2 separate regions of the Homo sapiens genome follow, and region 2 is linked to region 1. Evidence: promoter capture Hi-C in 16 types of primary human blood cells and fetal thymus (Javierre and others, 2016). All regions are on one chromosome and are shown on one strand. Each heading gives the region's core, a stretch centred on a gene start or on the middle of the fragment in contact. The rest is flanking DNA. Distances are from core to core; before and after follow the strand shown.

Evidence for each region. The method cuts DNA at HindIII sites, captures the fragments that hold promoters and counts their contacts. A CHiCAGO score of 5 or more calls a contact.
Region 2: a fragment that was not itself captured here is called in contact with the fragment with the promoter of HOXD9 in region 1 in 4 of 17 cell types (monocytes, M0 macrophages, M2 macrophages and 1 more); the score reaches 6.8 in monocytes.

The regions. Positions count from the first base shown.
Region 1 is chr2:176,120,946-176,125,351 of GRCh38, forward strand. It overlaps HOXD9 (homeobox D9), which reads left to right and starts at 1,774. Exons shown (of 2, transcript NM_014213.4): 1 at 1,774-2,640; 2 at 2,989-3,992. The coding sequence starts at 1,824. The coding sequence ends at 3,230. The HindIII fragment of the contact is 6,351 bases long and covers 1-4,406 here.
Region 2 is chr2:175,368,546-175,372,951 of GRCh38, forward strand. No RefSeq gene overlaps it. Among named protein-coding and RNA genes, the nearest start is that of ATP5MC3, 190 kb to the left of the region's middle. The HindIII fragment of the contact is 341 bases long and covers 2,188-2,528 here.

The sequences.
Region 1 (4,406 bases), core at 524-3,023:
AGCTAACAGAAAATTCGTTACCTGAGGTCCTGCCTGCAGTTTCAAATAGCTTCCAGCAGTTTTACAAAACACATCCTTTCCATTTCTTCCTTTTAAATGTTTCCCTAAGAACGATCCATTTAGGTGCTATAAGTCCTCAGCCAGGGAGTCTCTGGGACACTGGCATTCAAAATTTTAAACTTCCGCCCCAAAACCAGGAACATTCCAAGACAGAACTCTTTTAGGGGGCCATTTCCTGGGGGTGGGGGAGAGGGCTTGGAATCAATGCTAGATTGAAAACGTTGTAATAGCTTTGCCCCAGACTTAACACCGGTTGGGCAGGAGGAGGGTAATTTTTATTTAGCCGTTTCTCCGATCATGTGGGGAATACCATTAGCTGTTGATAGCGGGCCATGTATCCGAGGAAAGCCTGAGCTACAAGGCAAAGGCATCCCATCTGGAACAAAATCAGAAAGCTATTGGCAAAGGTAATCAATCAGGCCATAAATAGCCATTTACCCGCTTCCTTTTCGGGGCTGGAGGTGGGCCGGGAGCCCTCCAAGGGTGAGCTGGGCAACTTGTAGAGCAAGGAATATGCCCTCCGCTGCCGGCGCCCCGGCCGCTTTTGTCTGGGCTCCCAGCCGGGCTTCCGAGGCTTTGTACCATGGATTTGGGAGTGACAATGGGCATTTCCCTCAGATTCAAGGCTGCTCAACCTCACCTCTGTAGGGGGAAAAAAATCAGAAGGGAGTGTCCCAAGGACCTAGCCATTCGGCCGAATTTTTTAGACATTTTGGGAGTCTCCTCCGAGGCCTTTAAGTGCGAACCGCGCGAAGCGGCCCTGCCCGGGGAGACTCGCTGAGGCAGGGCTGAGGCGGCGGGCGGGAGCAAGCTGCTCTAGCATTTGGGTTCTGCCCTGTGGCGTGTTCTCTTCCAGGGCCTTTCCAGCATCATCGGAGAAGACGAAGCACCCTGGCCGCCACTGTCCGTGCTGCGCCAACTCGCCCGGCCGCCCGCCCTTCCGAGGGCAGGCAGAAGCCCCTCTGTGTCCTCCACCGCCGCGCCCCGGCTCGCCCCTCGGGCCGCGGCGTGTGCCCAGCCTCACGTCGGGGTGTGTGTGGCCGCGCGGGCGTGTGTGAGTGTGGCAGGGGGAGGGGGCCCTCCGATCTGCTCCATCCGTCCGTTTTATTAGGGACACATTAATCTATAATCAAATACACCTCATAAAATTTTTATTGAAAGGCATAATATCATTACAGAGGTCTTCCACCTGTTTTAAACAACACGACAAGCTGTGAGCAAGCGTGTGTGTGGGGATGTGTGGGGAGGGGTGGGTGTGAGTAGGGAGAGAGGCGAGGGGAGAACAGCTCCCCTCGGGCGCTAGGGGCCGCCCCGAGGGCCCGCCTGCCTCGGGCGACACCGGCCTGGCGCCCCCGCGGCCGCTCCGTGTGCCCTGGACTCGCCGCCCGCGGCTCGGAAGCTGGAGAGTCAGCGACGGGGCCCGACTGCGGGACCGAGGGCTGCAAGAAGAAGCGAACAAATAGTCCCCAGCGCCTCCTCTGGATGCGGTCGCGTCTGTGGTCCTGGCAGCCGCTGGGCGGGCCAGGCCAGGTCGGGCCGGGCCGAGCCGGGCACATGGACCTGGGCCTGCGGGCTCTAATTGCGGCGCTTATGTTGATGATTTTTTTTTTAATCACAGCAGCCCCCAGTTTAGCGGACTGATTTACTCCCGGTATTGGTAAATATGATCACGTGGGCCGCGCGACCAATGGTGGAGGCTGCAGCCTGCGAACTAGTCGGTGGCTCGGGCGCCGGCGGGGAGCTGCTCGGCGGCGGACAGTGTAATGTTGGGTGGGAGTGCGGGACGCCTCAAAATGTCTTCCAGTGGCACCCTCAGCAACTACTACGTGGACTCGCTTATAGGCCATGAGGGCGACGAGGTGTTCGCGGCGCGCTTCGGGCCGCCGGGGCCAGGCGCGCAGGGCCGGCCTGCAGGTGTGGCTGATGGCCCGGCCGCCACCGCCGCCGAGTTCGCCTCGTGTAGTTTTGCCCCCAGATCGGCCGTGTTCTCTGCCTCGTGGTCCGCGGTGCCCTCCCAGCCCCCGGCAGCGGCGGCGATGAGCGGCCTCTACCACCCGTACGTTCCCCCGCCGCCCCTGGCCGCCTCTGCCTCCGAGCCCGGCCGCTACGTGCGCTCCTGGATGGAGCCGCTGCCCGGCTTCCCGGGCGGTGCGGGCGGTGGCGGTGGTGGTGGAGGCGGCGGTCCGGGCCGCGGTCCCAGCCCTGGCCCCAGCGGCCCAGCCAACGGGCGCCACTACGGGATTAAGCCTGAAACCCGAGCGGCCCCGGCCCCCGCCACGGCCGCCTCCACCACCTCCTCCTCCTCCACTTCCTTATCCTCCTCCTCCAAACGGACTGAGTGCTCCGTGGCCCGGGAGTCCCAGGGGAGCAGCGGCCCCGAGTTCTCGTGCAACTCGTTCCTGCAGGAGAAGGCGGCAGCGGCGACGGGGGGAACCGGGCCTGGGGCAGGGATCGGGGCCGCGACTGGGACGGGCGGCTCGTCGGAGCCCTCAGCTTGCAGCGACCACCCGATCCCAGGCTGTTCGCTGAAGGAGGAGGAGAAGCAGCATTCGCAGCCGCAGCAGCAGCAACTTGACCCAAGTAAGTGCAAAAGAAATTGCCCCCTGATTTATTGCTGAAACCTGTAAGGCTCGAATGTGCAAAACTGATAGTTTTACTAACCTATAAAAACGTCTAGACGCCTACCCAAGCCTAGGCGAACAACATGCATCCATAAAAAGAGCTTCCCATAACCACCTACCCTGGGCGCTCAGTTAGTACGGTAAACAGAGCGCGAGCATTAAGGCTTTTTATGATAATTCCCCACAAGTTGTGAAAAGCGACCATCCTTGGTGAAATTAATTTAACGACCTCTCTTCCCCACCCTGTGGTCTCTCCCTGCCTCCCCTCCTCTCCTCTCTCCCCGTCTCCAAACCTCCCTCTTTGTAGACAACCCCGCCGCGAACTGGATCCACGCTCGCTCCACCCGGAAAAAGCGCTGTCCCTACACCAAATACCAGACGCTTGAGCTGGAGAAAGAATTCCTCTTCAACATGTACCTCACCCGGGACCGGCGCTACGAGGTGGCCAGGATTCTCAACCTAACAGAGAGACAGGTCAAAATCTGGTTTCAGAACCGTAGGATGAAAATGAAAAAGATGAGCAAGGAGAAATGCCCCAAAGGAGACTGACCCGGCGCGGTGCTGGCGGGAGCGCTCAAGGGCAGCGGATTTGTTGTTGTTGCTGTTTTCCTTTGTGGGTGTTTGGTGCTTGATTTCCAGAAACTCTCCAGCGACTTGGACTTCTTCTTCTTTTTTTTTTTCTTTTTAGATAGAAGTGACTGTGTGGTTGGTCTCTGAGGTATTTGGGGGACTCTGTATTTGCTCGTTTACGTGTTGGAAAAACCAAGTGGCTTTGGGGTTTCGCCCTATCCCACTCCCTCTCTTTCCTGCTCCATTGGTTCCTTAAGAAATGCTATATTTTGTGAGTGCAAGCTGGCTTGGGGAGCCCTCTCTTGTGTAAATGTCCCCCATGTTTCTGAAAAGTGCTGTAGTTTAGTCCCCTCACCCCCAGCACTGCCCAAACAGGGGCCAAGTGCGCCCCAATTCCAAGAATGAAGGCAGAGCGACAACAGTGCGGACACCCCGGCTGCTAGCCCACGGTGAAGCCCGGCGGGGTTGCCCACCAGTTGCGAAAGCCCCCTTTCCTCAGGGAGCACGCGGGACCTCGGTGGAGATCTCCAGTGAGGCTTAGAGGAGCCCAGGGCCTCGGGCGGGTTGGGGTTTGTCCTCAGTGCATTGGACGCGCTGCTCTCTCCCCTGAAGGCTGGGCTCGCGTGGGCGGCCGCGGGTGGTGGCCCTCCCGGTTCCTGCCCGAGGACCAGTTGTAAATGTTACTGCTTCCTACTAATAAATGCTGACCTGATCAAATGGAGCCCAGACGCTGGCCCTAAACATTGTGTGCCTGCTTTCTCTGCCTCTCTGCAAAATATCACACTCAGGATATTTCTCCTCTACCCCTGGGAGTGAGACATTGTTAAAAATTCAGGGCCCTTCCACCTGACAGATCTCTCTGATGTGTCTCTGCCTTCTCTGCCTCACATCCCTTTGTGTAGGCAGATGCAGCAGCACAGACCCTGTGGGGGGACATTGGTGCCTCCCCAAGCCTGGTTCAAGGTCCTCCACGAACTCTGTGCTTGGGCCCAGTGTTAGCCTTGCAGAAGCGCCCAGAAGAGCCAGCAGGCCCCAGAAGCCAGGCACTTTCAGGCTGGGGCTTGGGTACACAGCACCCTAACCTTCCCTGGGCTCCTGAAGCCCCAGATGCCAAACCCCTCTCCAAACAAGGGAAAGGCCAACTCTACACTCTGG
Region 2 (4,406 bases), core at 1,108-3,607, 750 kb before region 1:
CACCAGCTCTTAAGGATCTTGTGGATCAAAGTGAGGCTGAAGTCACATTTAGGCATATCCCATGGGACAAAGGAGTTCAGAAGAGGTGCATATTTTAAAAGGAAATACCACGATGGACACAAGAAATTCTATTTCATGGTTTATGTGAGACAGATAAAAGCTACCGAGCAACAAATTTGACTAAATGAATACCAAAAGGGCTGAAGGTCAGAAAACAATACTTGCAAGACATGAAAACAAGACTAAAGTATCAGAGATGAATACTGTGGAAGATTCTAAACTCCCAGGGAATAGTTGAGTAAATACAACGAAACTGCACGTGAGCAAAACTCTGATTTCATATACAACTTCCTATCAGCGAGGCTTTTGATTCAGTCAAAATTAAGTTGCTAACACAGGGAAACAAATGAGGGTAGAGTGATTAATTCTGACTTAAGGAATCACAGAAGGTTTCCAGGAAGGGATAACAGTTGATTCCTACCACTAATAATGAATTGTGATTTTATAGGTGGAGAGTGGAGGGAAGTGCACTTTGAGTTAAAGGGCCAGCATGATCCAAAGATAATCAGAACCATGGAGACCCCTTGGTACTGGCAAGTTACATTGAGAAGCAGAGGAAAGCTGCTTGGGTGGATAGATAACAAAGGAGAAGATTTTCCTAACTCAGTATTGGCTAGGCAAATAGATGCCAGCTATCCATCTGTAACATCTATGATATTCTTGGGCACTTAGATGATGAAAGACACCAGGACAGTGGGAGGAAATGACAAGCAGAATTTGAAATCTAATAACCTTTCAAGTTGTAAAAATGGCTAGTAAGAATTGGAACAATCTTTAATAGGGATATAATGTGTGTGAAGTGCATGGGAAAAGAAATCTCAAATGAAATTTAGAAAATGATTCACTATGCACATGAAACAGGAAATTATCTGACGTTATAAAGTTGAACACGAATCAATAATAAAATTATAACACTGTTCCAAGGGCCATATTCTGTGGCCCCAGAACCTACGGGTGAGAGAGGTTTGAAAGAAGACTCTTCAGCTACACCAGTCCCCAAATTCTTTAGCTTCAGATACAATATAGACACATCACTTGCCTATTTCCACTCTTTGGTAAACATTGTCATGGAAAAATACATACATAAAGCTAAGTTAGAAGTTTGTAATTTAATTTGTTTATGACAACATTGATTGTAAATACCACAGATGCTTGTAAAAAATTCAGTATAGGGCTTAGTTTGAGTTTGGGAGTGGGAAATGATGTTAAAAGAAAAAAAGAAAAAAGTACTATGTCTTTGATTTATCTATCATTTTATGCAAAGTAGAAAGATACAAATAAATGAAAGTATCAAAAATGATTAAAGGCACAGAAAATGGGTGCTCTGAAAGAATATACTCATTGTGATTACGTAACTCAGAAAATAACTGAAGGGTGTTTCAATAACACTGTATGGGAAAGTTTTTCAACAAAACTAATGGTCAATTTTTAAAATTCGATTTAACTGGAAACATCCTCAAATTGCAGACTGACCGATATTGAAGTTAGTTGAAAAGATGCAGCTTTTGTTAATAGAAATGATTGTTACATTTAGGAATTGGCCCAAGACAACACCTGGAAGTCAAACTGCCTCACTTTGAAATATTGGCTATTCTGCCTGGCAGCTATACACTTAACTTCTCTGTGTCTCTGTATTTTTATCAGTAAGAAGGAGATAAAAAACTACTTTTCATTTCAAAGGTTTTTGTGAGGATTAACTGTATTAATAAAATAAAAGGACAGAACAATTCTGGAATATAGTAAATGCTTAATAATGATTAACTCTTATTACTATGACTTGAACCTAATTGGTGCTCATTGAATATCTATTGATGGATTACCACAGCTACTTCTGCCAGCTTTTTATGTGTAAAAAAAAAATCTTTTTTTTTTTTTTTTTGGCATGGTTTAGTTAGATCCTTGCCTGAATTATATACTGCCTTGGTGTATAGTCTTTCTTTTTTAAACAGATGTGTAGTAGATATGCACAAAATACTTCTGGATGTTAAAAGGCAAAATTAAATAACAAAATATTTGACAACTCAGGGTGAAAATAGCCTCTGATTATTAATTGAAGGCACTGAAAGCATTTTGAGGGGCCGGTCTATACTTCTGATTGCCAAGCAAGCAGGGAGGTGACTGTCTCAAAGCTTCGGACGTTTTGAAGCTGGGGCCTGGCTCCGTAGTCTGTGACAATGCACAATGGTTGATGAGTTAGTTCTGGAGGCTTCTGAATTTTAATGATGCTGGAGATGATATTGTGTGTCCTTCAGCTTGTTAGAGTGACACCAGCACTCCATAAATCATAATACCTGTGTATTGTAAAATCAATAGCCAAGTGCTATCTCAGCGCTAACCCTTAATAAGTTTTTCACAGCTCTAACAGCTTAAACTTTGCCGTAATGCCATTGGACCTGTAGGTTAGGATCAGAGCATGCTTAATTTGTTTTGTAATAGAGACTTTTCACTAATGAAGGACCGATTAGTTAAGCTTTGGTTGCCACTCTGGTGATCAGTTGGCAGAACAGCCTCTGCAATTAAACTCATGTATCTCTGTCCTGAAGCAAAAAAGCAGGCTTAAACAGTCAATAAATGTTAATCCAGTCACAACCTGTCTCTGCCTTTGAAGGCTGCCCATGAGGGTTTTTTCCCCTACATCACATTTTTTTCATCTTGTTTTAAATGTGGTGGTCCCCATGGAGTCTGGATGTGGCGTGCATGACCTCCCATGGTCCTGTAATAAGATCTGGCATGCTAACAACATTGGCTACAGATCTGTCATCTATAGGTCTGTCTGTCCCTCCCCCTCCCTCATCTCCTTATCTAAGGTTGAAGAATAAATGAGCAATTGAAGCACATGGGACCTCTAGATGAAATTGGGTAAATATGTATGCAAAGTGGAGGGTGTGCTTTTGTGTTGCTAGGACATATATTATGGTCTCTCCTTCCCACTTTCACTACACACATATGTGGTCAGTATGGTAAAGGAAAGCTGTTTCCTTATTTGCTTTTATTGAGGGAATGTGGCTTGTAATCATCCCTGATGAGTGCTGGGAAGTGAGAGCTCAGTGCAGAGCTGGCAAGCAAAGTAGAACTTCAGAATCACTCCTGGTGGGGCTGGGGGTAGGGTGGTGGAGAAAAAAAAGGAAGAAGAAAAAACTGAGATATAAAACACTTCAAAACTATTTAATACTCCCCTTCCTTGTTATCTGTGTCCTTAAAATTTCAGATACTTTTCTTTTTTCTTTATTTTCTTGCTCTTTCACTTAAGGAAGAGAAGTAAAGACTGACAGCCAGACAGGAAAGTGGCTAGTTCAGACTGTGGCCCACAGACCTGTGGGTGAATGGAAGAGAGTGGTCTGAAAATTGAAATGTCTTCTGTTGGATCCAGGGTCACATGCTTCGGGAGTCTGGTGACATTTGTTTTTTTCCTTCCCATAGGAGCTTGCTTTCCATAGGGCATGCATGAGAGTTAGCTTGTGTCCCTGATGAGAAGATTTAAGCTGTGGGGAAAGGGGGTGCAAAGGAAAGTGAGTGGGTGCAAAGACTGGGAGTGAGTTGTCCAGGAGTCACTGGTCTGCAATGGCAGTGCTGAAAAATGAAGAAAATGCTCATCAAAAGAAGAAGGTTTAGAATTTAACTTGTGGTGAATCTGGGTTTTGTGAACTGTTGTTTAGTTGGCACTTAATTTAGCATACTAGTATTTTATTATAACATTTCATCATTTAATGTCAGGTAGCAAATTATTACTCAACAGAGTATTATTGACTTAATGCAATTAGGCTTTTGAAGCGTTCTGAAGCTGGAGAGCTCTTTTACATGGGTCTTCTTCCTGGAATGCAAATCTGATAGCTATGGAGCAGGCAGGAATTAACCATGTCCCTATGAACTCATTTATGTTAGAAGAACCCCCAGTAATTTCTCTGCAACTCATTGGTTTTTCAGAGAAAAAAGTTTTCAAAGCAATGCTATGGAATATACTTGCAAGTATATTAAACCTGCCTTAGTAAAGGCAGATGTTTTCAATGATCCAATTGCTTATTTAACAAATTGATATTGAGTGCCTACTGTGTGCTCCTCACCAGGGCAGGTGCAGAGGAAACAATGAAAAATGTGACATGCTTGGTCTCTGCCCTTGGTCCTGTGCTCACTCTTGAGAAATTTAATATATGCAAAGAAATACATTTAAAGTAAAAAAAACCACACACACAAATATATTGATCATGAGCACTGAAGGCAAAAAATAATTAGCATTACTCAAGTAATTTATGATCCTAATGGGCACTGAGCCATGTGCTGCAGGCCTTAAGTCATTCAGTAACAGAGTCTTTCTGAGCTCTGGTTCTATAAAAAGCACCATGTCACAT